Regions from separate parts of the Homo sapiens genome. Here all the other regions are linked to region 4. Evidence: promoter capture Hi-C in 16 types of primary human blood cells and fetal thymus (Javierre and others, 2016). All regions are on one chromosome and are shown on one strand. The core of a region is centred on a gene start or on the middle of the fragment in contact, and the rest is flanking DNA. Distances in the headings are between cores, read along the strand shown. Region 1 overlaps SLC49A4 (solute carrier family 49 member 4). Region 2 has its middle 75 kb from the start of SEC22A. Region 3 has its middle 3.8 kb from the start of LINC02035. Region 4 holds the start of SEMA5B (semaphorin 5B).

The links. Contacts are between HindIII fragments. The CHiCAGO score rates a contact against its expected background, and 5 or more counts as called.
Region 1: a fragment that was not itself captured here is called in contact with the fragment with the promoter of SEMA5B in region 4 in 1 of 17 cell types (M2 macrophages); the score reaches 6.1 in M2 macrophages.
Region 2: a contact is called between a fragment that was not itself captured here and the fragment with the promoter of SEMA5B in region 4, in 1 of 17 cell types (megakaryocytes). The highest score is 5.1, in megakaryocytes.
Region 3: a fragment that was not itself captured here is called in contact with the fragment with the promoter of SEMA5B in region 4 in 2 of 17 cell types (M2 macrophages and M0 macrophages); the score reaches 8.0 in M2 macrophages.

What each region holds. Positions count from the first base shown.
Region 1 is chr3:122,807,648-122,810,347 of GRCh38, reverse strand. The region is part of intron 2 of SLC49A4 (solute carrier family 49 member 4); the gene reads right to left. Among named protein-coding and RNA genes, the nearest start is that of SLC49A4, 14 kb to the right of the region's middle. The HindIII fragment of the contact is 690 bases long and covers 950-1,639 here.
Region 2 is chr3:123,275,327-123,278,026 of GRCh38, reverse strand. No RefSeq gene overlaps it. Among named protein-coding and RNA genes, the nearest start is that of SEC22A, 75 kb to the right of the region's middle. The HindIII fragment of the contact is 2,255 bases long and covers 231-2,485 here.
Region 3 is chr3:122,881,334-122,884,033 of GRCh38, reverse strand. No RefSeq gene overlaps it. Among named protein-coding and RNA genes, the nearest start is that of LINC02035, 3.8 kb to the left of the region's middle. The HindIII fragment of the contact is 637 bases long and covers 982-1,618 here.
Region 4 is chr3:123,026,498-123,029,197 of GRCh38, reverse strand. SEMA5B (semaphorin 5B) reads left to right here and starts at 1,435. Exons shown (of 23, transcript NM_001031702.4): 1 at 1,435-1,734. RefSeq lists an enhancer at 324-831. The HindIII fragment of the contact is 2,453 bases long and covers 527-2,700 here.

The DNA.
Region 1 (2,700 bases), core at 45-2,544, 220 kb after region 4:
TATACCAAGTTCCTTATTTATCTAAGATGTTATAAGAAAAACGTGGCAAAATAATTTTTTCCTGAGTTTTCATCAGTACTATGCAAATAAAATAAATACTGATACTATATATAAGTAGAACACCATTAGGAAGAGCTTGTCAGAATGCTGCTATTCTCATGTCTTGATACTTAAGGGAGCTAAGATACAGGAAGTCAAGGGTGCAGGGGAGCCATTCCAAAAGGCTGGGTCAAAAGCTCAAAAAGCTCCGAGTGAAACAAGGCCACAAAAACACAGACTTGTAAATGCTTGTTTCAACACTGGCCTTCCCTGGAACATCGGATGGAGACTGAAGCTTAAAAGTGATGGCTATACACCTGATTTGTTGAAAATACATGTTCCAATTGTAGCATTTTCATTTTAACAGCTTCATCATGCATTGTTAACAACACTGCTTAAAAGATATGCTTAAAGACTACGAAATGAAGTCTTATTTCAAGGGGTTAATACTCCTGTATTCTTTATAGATGAATGTATAAGATTGAAAATTCAATTTATACACTCTTTTTATGAAAGATTCAATCTCTGAACTTTTTATTTCTACTTCTTACCTGTTCTACATTTGTTTACATTTATTTATGAATTGTTTCTTTTTCATACCACCTTCTCCAACAAGATGGAGGGTCAACTCTATTATTCCCAGAATTTTGTATATGGAAAGGATATAAAGGGATATGAGACTGGAGGCAAGTAATAGTATGGATGGCCCAAAACAGAAGAAAAACTAGCAAAAATATTAATAGGTATTTTTTTTGAGATGGGGTCTCGCTGTGTTGCCCAGGCTGGTCTCAAACTTCAGGCACAAGAGATCCACCTGTCTCAGCCTCCCAAAGTGCTGGGATTACAGGTGTGGGCCACTGCACCTGGCCTTAATAGGCATTTTAAAAGAAAGCAGTGTTGAATTTAAGCTTACATGAAAATCTGTACTTAAAATCTGTGGATGCTTGAAAAAACACACCTCTGGGTGTTTGAAAAATTAAGAGCATCTCAAATACAATAATGAGACTTGTGTTAAAATCTAACTGAGAAGGATGGAAAATTATGACTAGCTTTCCATAGGAACCTAGATGATTGTCTTATCTCCCTTTTCAAACATGAACCCTTGTACCCTAAATTTTCTAGAAAGAAAACACATTTTGAAATTCAAAACTGAACATTTATTTTGAAACTGAAAAATTCTGTTCCAAAAGAAAGTCAACATCTTGTCCCTGAAATCCACTCTCCCCCACTTCTGTGTTCCCCATCTGTTAATGGAATCAACAATTTCAGAGTCCCTCGAGTGAAACTTCCAGCATATCACCTCCCATCTCTTTTTCTCACACTTCCCCTCATGTCTGTGCCATCCTTTCCATTCCCCCAACTTCCCACAGCATGGAATCATTCTGGACTCCTTTCTCTTACTTCCCACATCTGGTCCATCAGCAAATGGACCAGAATATAATCAGAATATAATTACATTTTGAATATTCAAGATGATCAGAATTTGACCACTTCTCACCACTCCCACTGCCACCACTATGGTCCAAGCCACCATCATCTCTCACCTGGTTTATTGCACTTGTTTCCCAACTTTCCTTACTTATGCCCATGACCTCAAGCTTCAGTCCATTCTCAAAGGAGCAGCCGAGCACCATGGCACTCTCAGCTCAAAACCTCCAGTGGTTTCCTAGCTCAGAAAAAGCTGAGGAGCTGACGTGGTCTTAAAGAATCTGGTCCCACCCTCCCACTACCACTCTGTAACCGCTCTGACCTCATTTGCTACCTGCTTTTCTCATGCCACACCAGCCTCCCTGCCAGGCATCCCTGTCCCTCTTCCACCCTGAACTCTTGCGGTTCTCTCTGCATATAATGCTTGATTCCTAGATACTGCATCATCCATTACTTCTGTCAGGTTTTTATCCCAAAAGGTTATCTTCCCAGTTAGGTTTTTCTTTCTGAAATCTCACCATCCTTTCCTCGCCTTTTCATATCCTTCTTTCCTATTTTGTTTTACTCTCCATAGCACATACTATGTATTTTACTTATTTATCTAGTTTATTGCTGGTTTCCCTGAGTGGAATGAAACTACATCACAAACATAGTATGTCATGTAATGTACATTATATAGTAAATTACTATGTACTATGTAATATACTATGTAATTTACTACATTACATAGTAATTTTTATCTGCTTTGTCTTCTGTCATATTCCCAATGCCCACAAAGAGGTTGGCACATAGTAGAAGCTCAGTGAATTCTGTTGAATGAATGAATGACCTAATAAATGAACCAACAAAAGAATGACTTCAGCTTGGGGTCCCACTGTATCTTTCCAGGTCTTCTGCCAGCAATCTCTACCCCTTATAATCAAGCCTACATATCTCAATCCATAGTGAATATAACATAGGTCTGATACTAGCACTCCTCTGATTAAGAGCCTAAGGGGTTTTCCACTATCCAGTGAGTAAAGTACACTGTTAATAATACAGGATGGCATCAAGACCCTTCAGAATCAAAATATAACCTTCTAACCTCATCTTTTTATATCCCATTCTTACACCTTAATCTGTAGACCAGTATCTCTCGAACTTGAGTAATTTATGGGTCCTTCTGAAAGGGAAAAAATTTCTCAACGACTCTCAAGGTCACATTCAAGGACCCCAGTCTCGGAAACACTAATT
Region 2 (2,700 bases), core at 109-2,608, 250 kb before region 4:
TTTTCAGAGGGATCACAAATTCCCTAATCACCTAACAGAATTCCCATTAAATGACATCAAGTCAAAGAATCAACCTATTCTGGCATTTTGCTAGGAAAAGCAAATGTTTGTAACACCCAAATCACCAATAATGCTTTTATTTTCCACATCAAGATTAATTTATATGTTAGTTTTAGTACAAGTACTAAAATGTATACTTCTTGCCCTAATAGCTAAGGTATACATAAGCTTCACCATACATCTTGCAGCCACCTGTCTGTCCTATGTCATTGTTATAAATGTAGAGATTTTAGGAAACTATTTTATTCAACCTGGGACATCTATACTGTAGGAGTTAGCACTGACCTGATGTCTTATTTAAAAGTAATGTATATTACCTTTACATATATTCCTTATATATTTAAACGTATTTCCATGTTATCCAGCTTAAAATCACATGGTGGTTAAGAGCATGAGTTCTGAGTCAGATCTGGACTGAAATCCTGATGCTACCACATGGGTTAGGTTGTGACTGTGGTCAAGTCACTTAACTTCTTCATGGCCCAGGTGGCTCATTTTTAAAAGAGAAAACCTTCATAAATGCTTTCGGTAAAGATGAGATGCTTAGCATAGTGCCTGTCACACAGTATACATTGCCATTTCCCCCTTCCTGTCTGCTTCATCTGTTCACACTGCTGCTAAAACAGTAAGAACCCAGCTGTCGTCAGTCACACACACATTCCCTAAGAAGTGTCTTTCTGAGATGCACTGTGGCACAGAAAAATGAGCACCAACTTTCAAGCGACTTAAACCCAACTCCAAATTTGAACTTCACATCCACCACCAAGTGTCATACCATACGAAGACAAGTTCCTGGCCTGAGTCTTGGTTTCCTCAAATGCAAATGAGATCGTGCCCGCTCCACCTCATGCTGCCATAAGGATGAACTAAGGAGAACCCAGCACTGGCCCACAAAATGAGCTAACAAGCATTCTCCTCATTAGTCCTAGGCACTGGAGAGATTCAAAGTGCAAGAATGAAATACTTTGTTCATCTTTAGGCAAGGTCCTTTGCAACCCAACCTCAAAGAAAAGTGCTGGCACAAAGAAGGTAAGCAAGCAAGGCAGAGCTGGGGAGGGGACACCAGGAACAAATGGGGAGTGGAATGCCTGAGTCCTGCTTCCCGTTGTCAGATGGTGCCTGAATGTGCTTTCTGTTGGGTGATGCTTGTATGGCTGTGCTGTGAGATGCAGGAGAAAGGGGTGAATGTAAACCGTGGGTGGGTTTGGGCTGAAAATACTGTTTGTTGCCAAGGAAACACAAGGAACAATTCATAAGGCTAGGATATTGATTTCAAAAACTCTGAGAACTAAGGCTGATCTCTGAGTTTCCTAAAACCCCCAATTGTGCTGAGACGACTGATTACACATCAGCATTGCCAACGCAGAAGAAACCTGAATGCCCACGCATCAACACCACTCACTGTTAACAAGCAGGAGCATATGCGCCACGTGGCTTCCAACCACACAGTGTTTCCACGTTTCTTTTGATTTCATCTACTAAATAACCTAGAAAACTCAGCCACTCAAGAAAGAGACAAGAGTGGCAGCCAGTTTTTCTCTTTGAAAAACTCGATGCTTAAACAGGAGGCCGCAATCTGCCAGCATTCAACAGCAGCCCCAGAACATTAATGATCACACACCTCCAACCTTACCGGTAATGCTCAGAGTGACATTCTCGGCTCACTCAGCCCTTTTACACAAACTCAGTCACAACCCTTGGAGCTGGGTTTCTTTTGTTAACTTTTAGCGAGGTTATTACTAAAGCCAATTTAACCCTAAAATCAGACCTTACTTTACCACAGCATTTTTAGGGAGAAAGACTTTGGTTCCTTAGAGATAAGGCAGAAAAATACTATAAAGCATTGAACACAGACAAAGAATGTGGCCCTAAAGAGTGACCTATAACTTGTGGTTAAGGCTAAGTGTTCAATGAGGTTTTGAGTGGTGGCTGCTCTTGAACGTATGTGTTCTTTTACCACACACTCCACAGAAGTTCTAACTCTTACAGTGAGCCAAAAGTCTGTTAAAATAGTAACAAGGAAGGTGTACACACACACACAACCTTTGTTGAGTTCCTTGGAAACCCAACAGCTCAGAGTATGACCTTAGGTCACTTAGTAAACCTTTTGAAATGAAGGCCAAGCAATTGCCTTTTAGGGGAGCAGCTGACCTCAGAAGCCACGGAGGTTAGGTCCTTTATGACAAACTTCTGGTCTCTGTGGAGCCCTGATGAAGTAGGAGTCTAATGGGGTTCCACACGTGGCCTAACAGAAATGGAGCTGTCCATCTCTCCACACTAGATTCCACTGTGGAGACATTTACTGCAATATAAATGTGCCAATCCAAGGATAGCACACTCACTTTCAATCTTATAATTCTGTAATACAGAATTGGGTAAAGGTTCTCCATGTCTTAAGGCATTTGTCTCAAATGATTTTCAAGCTTAATACTTGTTTTCAGCTTAGGATTCTTACCTATGAAAACAAAATCCTTTATTAACCACACCTACACAAATCCCCCCAAATCCTGAAATGGAAGCCTTTGAAAGCTGGTACAAGGTAAGGATCCAAGGCACAATCATAACATGTAAATGTGTGAAAATCGAGAATTCTGTTCATTTTAGCACTTCACAGGACCCCCAGTGAGAACACCTTTACTA
Region 3 (2,700 bases), core at 51-2,550, 150 kb after region 4:
AAATACTCGAACTTCTAAAGCTTAGCTGTGAGAAGACCTGTTAAATCTTTCTGGAGCACCTGGGCTTACTCATGTTCTGAGCTTGCTAGCGTCTCGTTCAGGAGAGGAAACTCTGAGCGTATGGCCTTATTTCCTATTCGGGAATGAGAATGGATTTCTGCTGGGGATCCTGGAGAGGGGTTGAGGGTGAAGAAGCCTGTGTCAGAAAGTCAGTTCAAGAAAGTGGAAGGTCTCAGGGACAGAGCTGAGGTCAGATTCATCCAAGGGTTGAGAAAGGTATCTGACGAGTCAGAGCCTCAGAAAATCATAAAGTGATCTAAATCCTGACCACAAACAAATGTAAATCAGAGAGACTGAGGGCCATGTAACTGCCTGTATCACTCCCATCCCCCTGGCCAGAGATGACACCCTCCAAGGGACCCCTACGGGCCTCTGTATTAGTTCCTGGAATCCTCTCCTAAGTTTGAGGTTCCATCTGAACCAGAAGGACACGTGAGGAAATGAGCTCGAGAGCCAAGATGTCTGCTGAGTGAGCAGGCCACCCCGCCTCTACTGAGCACAAAGTACCCCACAGCCCACTGTAAAGTCCTGTTCCACTTTCTTGAACTGACTTTCTGACACCCAGAAACATTCCCTCTGAGTATTGCTCACATTTCCTAACAGACCAGCACACTGTCTGATAGTAAAGAAATAAACTATCTTGTCCCTTCTGCATGAATATAATTCCAAATCAAAGTGGAATTGCATTTTTCTCCGATATTCATAAAATAGGCTTGATAAAATGTTCTCATAGTTTCCTGCATTTCTTTTTTAATATGACATTTTCTTCATATCACAGCTTTAGTACTTGCCTTAATATGGCAAAATGATAGTAATTTCTGTACTTATTTCAGGGACAAATGTGCAATGTGATTTTTTAAACATTAATTTAAAGCAAATTTGCTATGCATTTTTATTCAATCTTGAGCCTAAAGTGAAGCTTGTACTTATGCAAACAGTAAGATGAATGCCTGGATTTTAGTAAAATAGTAAAAAACAAACAAACAAACAAACAAACAAAAAACTAATTAAAAGTTAAGTAGATGGGGATTTAACCTCTTCAATTTAAAATCCCTTAGCTTAGATCTCTCATTAGAAGGGCTTCATAAAAACAAGCTGTAAACATTCTCCATAATTAAACATGAGTACATGATCTACGAAAAAACTTGGCCCTCAGGCCATATATATTTAAATATACAAAATTACATTTGTATTTGATTCTCTCGTAATTAGCTCCATCCTCCAGTGAAATGCATTTGTGTATACAACTGTCTTGTTCCTATACCTCCACCAGGGATCATATTAAAAAATGCTTCTTCCCATAAACTGTGAAGTATTAATTGATAAGCCACAGGGAACCTGCACTACAGCATGTCCTTACCAATTAATATTGGTGTTGACTTGGTTTATGGGATTGAATTATTCATCAGAATCTTTTTACATGATGTCATTACAACCCAAGGGCTAAGAGCTGACAGAGCATCTTCAGGATAGTGATGGAGAAAAAAGAATTTTACTTATAAACCAAATAATCACCTTAACTTAATCCTTGTACTTCCCATACTCAATAATGGAAGCTTACTGTTAAAGCCCTATCATTTTTTAACATGAAGGTATTCATGCACACCCAAAATGGTCTAAATTAAGCTTCTGTGAGGTAGGAAAAAAACACCTGGTTTAGGAGTCAGAAACTGTGAGCCTCAGTTGTACTTTACCTCTCTAGAATCATTTCTATAAATTCTAAAATGAGGGTTTGGATTAGTGAAGGGTTAAGATTTCTTTCAGCTGTAACATTTCATTAGGATTCTATAATGGTTAGAAAGTGCAAAGAAAGCAGCTGGTCTATTTTGATGCATGATAGAAATAAAAACAAAAAGAAAATATGATTTGCAATATTCAAGTAAATGATGTGTAATCTTCTCCCCACCCCCAAGCCTTTTGGTTCCCTTCCTGTCAGGTTTGGTATATGAAATTTTTGATCACTTAAAACAGTTGCAGTTTATAATTAGAACAATTACCTGCTGGAGGGGTAAGCACATACAAACAAAGTACAGGGACTCGTCTCACCTCATGTATTCTAAAAACAAGAATTCTGAACAATGCAAGAATTTTTAATCACTACCACTTGGGATGTTTTGAACTAATTAGTCATTTAGGTAATACTTTTAGAGTGTTATTCTACTTTGTGTTAAAAGAAGAATTAAGCCTGGTGTGGTGGTGCATGCCTGTAGTCCCAGCTACTCGGAAGGCTGAGGTAGGAGGATCACTTGAGCCCAGGAGTTTGAGTCCAGCCTGGGCAACATACTGAGATCCTGTCCCTTAAAAAAAAAAAGTGCAATTAACCATAATTAAAATGTTCTACACAAGAAATCTTACTATTGCAGAATGTTATACCACAACATCCTCAAACATAATAGTTCGGACTAAAACCAAATACCTTATAATTCTTCCCTCTCCTTTCTCTCTTCCCTCTGAACAGGAAGGGGTGGTGCTTATTTAGCATCCGGGTCATGGTCTACGGATATCCTTAATGGCTGGCTTTGAATCATCTTCAAGGAATCCGCCTTCTTGGCCTGGTGTGGTGGCTCACGCCTATAATCCCAGCACTTTGGGAGGCTGAGGCGGGTGGATCACTTAGGAGTTTGAGACCAGCCTGGGCAA
Region 4 (2,700 bases), core at 186-2,685:
AGTTTCAGCATTTCTGTTGCCCTAGAAAGTCTATCTTTGAGATCTTGCACTGTTTCTCTTTTTACAGTGTCTCATAAACTCCCTTCTTGGATTCAGAACCACCCTTTCTTTCCCATTATCCTGTCAAACTGCTTCTTGCCATGGTCCAGGGGTAGGAGGATGGCAGGCAGGAGGTGCTTCTCTGGGGCTCTTAGTGTCTCAATTCTTCTGCTTTATCTGGGTTTTCCTTTACCCAGAATTTTATTATGTAAAATGCTTCACTCAGACTTTGTTCTAATTATCCAATTTTTGGCATACTCTAGAAAGTCTTTTGATATTTTCCTTCCTCCAACTTATCTATTTTTATTTCATAGTTCTCTTTGGTTATCTCTTAGAATCACACTTTCCTGGTTTTAATTTTTCAAATCCTTTGTCTTTCTCACTCGTTCTTAGGTCACCTTTTTTTACATTTTCAAATATATTTTTTGTTCAGCAGAGGGCTCCCTTCCCATCCCTCTTGCAGCCCGGGCAGCTAGGATTTGAAGCTTGCCCCTTGAATCTTTCTCTCCCGCCTTCTAGCCATCAGAAACACTAGATCACTTAAACTTGTAAACAATTCGGCCTCGCTCCTTGTGATTGCGCTAAACCTTCCGTCCTCAGCTGAGAACGCTCCACCACCTCCCCGGATCGCTCATCTCTTGGCTGCCCTCCCACTGTTCCTGATGTTATTTTACTCCCCGTATCCCCTACTCGTTCTTCACAATTCTGTAGGGTGCGTATTACTAACCCCAGTTTACAGCTGAGGAAACTGAGGCTTGGAGAGGTTCGCTCGGTATCGTACAGTTTGCAAGGTTAACCCTAATCCGGCCAGTTCTGGCTTTCCAGCCCAGCCCAGCAGCCTAGCCTCCCTCTCTGCCGCTGCAGGTTATAACGGCTCTCCCCCGTTTTACACGAGGTCCCTTCCCCTTCAAATCCACAGGCAGGAAGATCGTTCCGAACTGACGGGGCTGGGGAATGTGGGAGTCCGGAGTGGGGTTTGGGGGAGCTTCCTCAGGCCCTGAGTGTTGGGGTGGGCAGGCCGCGCCGATGGCCCTCGGGGATGTCACATTCGAGATGGGGTGACCGAGAACGGCAAGGCGGGATGTGGCAAACGGCGGCAAGTGCTCGGAGTCCTAGGTCTTGCCGCCGGAATGCCGGCCGGGGAAGGGGCTTCGGCCCACCGGGCTGGTCACCACACTCGGCAGGCCCGGGGCGGGAGTCGGCCGAGCAGCCGCGGGATGCAGGGCGCCCCCTCGCGCTCCTCCGCGCGCCTCGAGGCTGGCGGGTGCAGCGCCCGCCGCGGCAGGTCTGCTCCAGCCCCCTCCTCTTTTTCGCTCCCGCTCCCCTCCTTCTCTCCCTTTGCTTGCAACTCCTCCCCCACCGCCCCCTCCCTCCTTCTGCTCCCGCGGTCTCCTCCTCCCTGCTCTCTCCGAGCGCCGGGTCGGGAGCTAGTTGGAGCGCGGGGGTTGGTGCCAGAGCCCAGCTCCGCCGAGCCGGGCGGGTCGGCAGCGCATCCAGCGGCTGCTGGGAGCCCGAGCGCAGCGGGCGCGGGCCCGGGTGGGGACTGCACCGGAGCGCTGAGAGCTGGAGGCCGTTCCTGCGCGGCCGCCCCATTCCCAGACCGGCCGCCAGCCCATCTGGTTAGCTCCCGCCGCTCCGCGCCGCCCGGGAGTCGGGAGCCGCGGGGAACCGGGCACCTGCACCCGCCTCTGGGAGGTGAGTCCCGGGAGCCCCGGGCGCTTCCCCTGCGCGGGTTGGGGCTGCAACTTGCAAACTTCAGCAACTCGGGTGGGTATCGGGGTAGAGAGGTAGGGGTCCGGGCTCTGGCAAGTTGAAGCCAGGTAGGTGAGGCTGCGGGCGGGAGGACAGGGGGTCCCCTGGCTTCCGCGCCTCCCGCTGCCACCTCGGCTTGAGAGCCCTCATCGCTGCTGCGTTCCCGCCGCCAGCCAGCTTGGGTCCGGGTTGCACTGGGCCCTGCCAGGGCTGTGGTCGGCGCATCTGGGCTGCAGCGGCGATGGGGACCCGGGACCCAGGCCTGGAGAAGGAGACGGACGAGTGAGGCTGAGGGACGGAGGGACAGAGGTGCGGAGATGGAGGCTCAGAGAGGGCCGGCTAGTAAACAGCACTGAGGGAGAGTGCGGGCGGCGAGGCGCGTGGGAACGCGTGGCCCGCCCAGAGTGTGAAATCTCCCGCTCAGGGACGTCCCTGCTCCACCGCCGCCGCCTGCGGAGCCGCCGCCCGGATTCTTCCCAGACCCGCCTCCAGGACACTCTTGCCCTGACCAGGCCTGCGGAGCGTGAACTCTGCCCACCAGGCTCCAGGGGCAGTGGCTCAGGGCCCCGCACTCCCGGCTGGGAGGGTGGAGAGGGGTGCGGCAGCTGGAAGCAGGGACGCGAGCGGCGATTTCCCGATTTATGTTTCTCATGGTAATTTGTCTTTGTGGTTGGGGCTGCCCATTCACTTTCCGCTCACGTCCTGCGGGAGATCCAGCGAGGAGGGAGGGAGCGGGGGGCGCTCGGGCACAGAGAGGGATGCAGACGGGAGAGGGGATCGGGGACCCGCGCGGGGCGGGAGCCAAGAGGGAAGTGGTCGCCGGACCGGCGGAGGAAGAAGGCGAGGCTCGAGAAAACCCGGCCCAACGGAGCCGACTCCTTTGCCCACCGCAAACTTTAAACAAGGAGG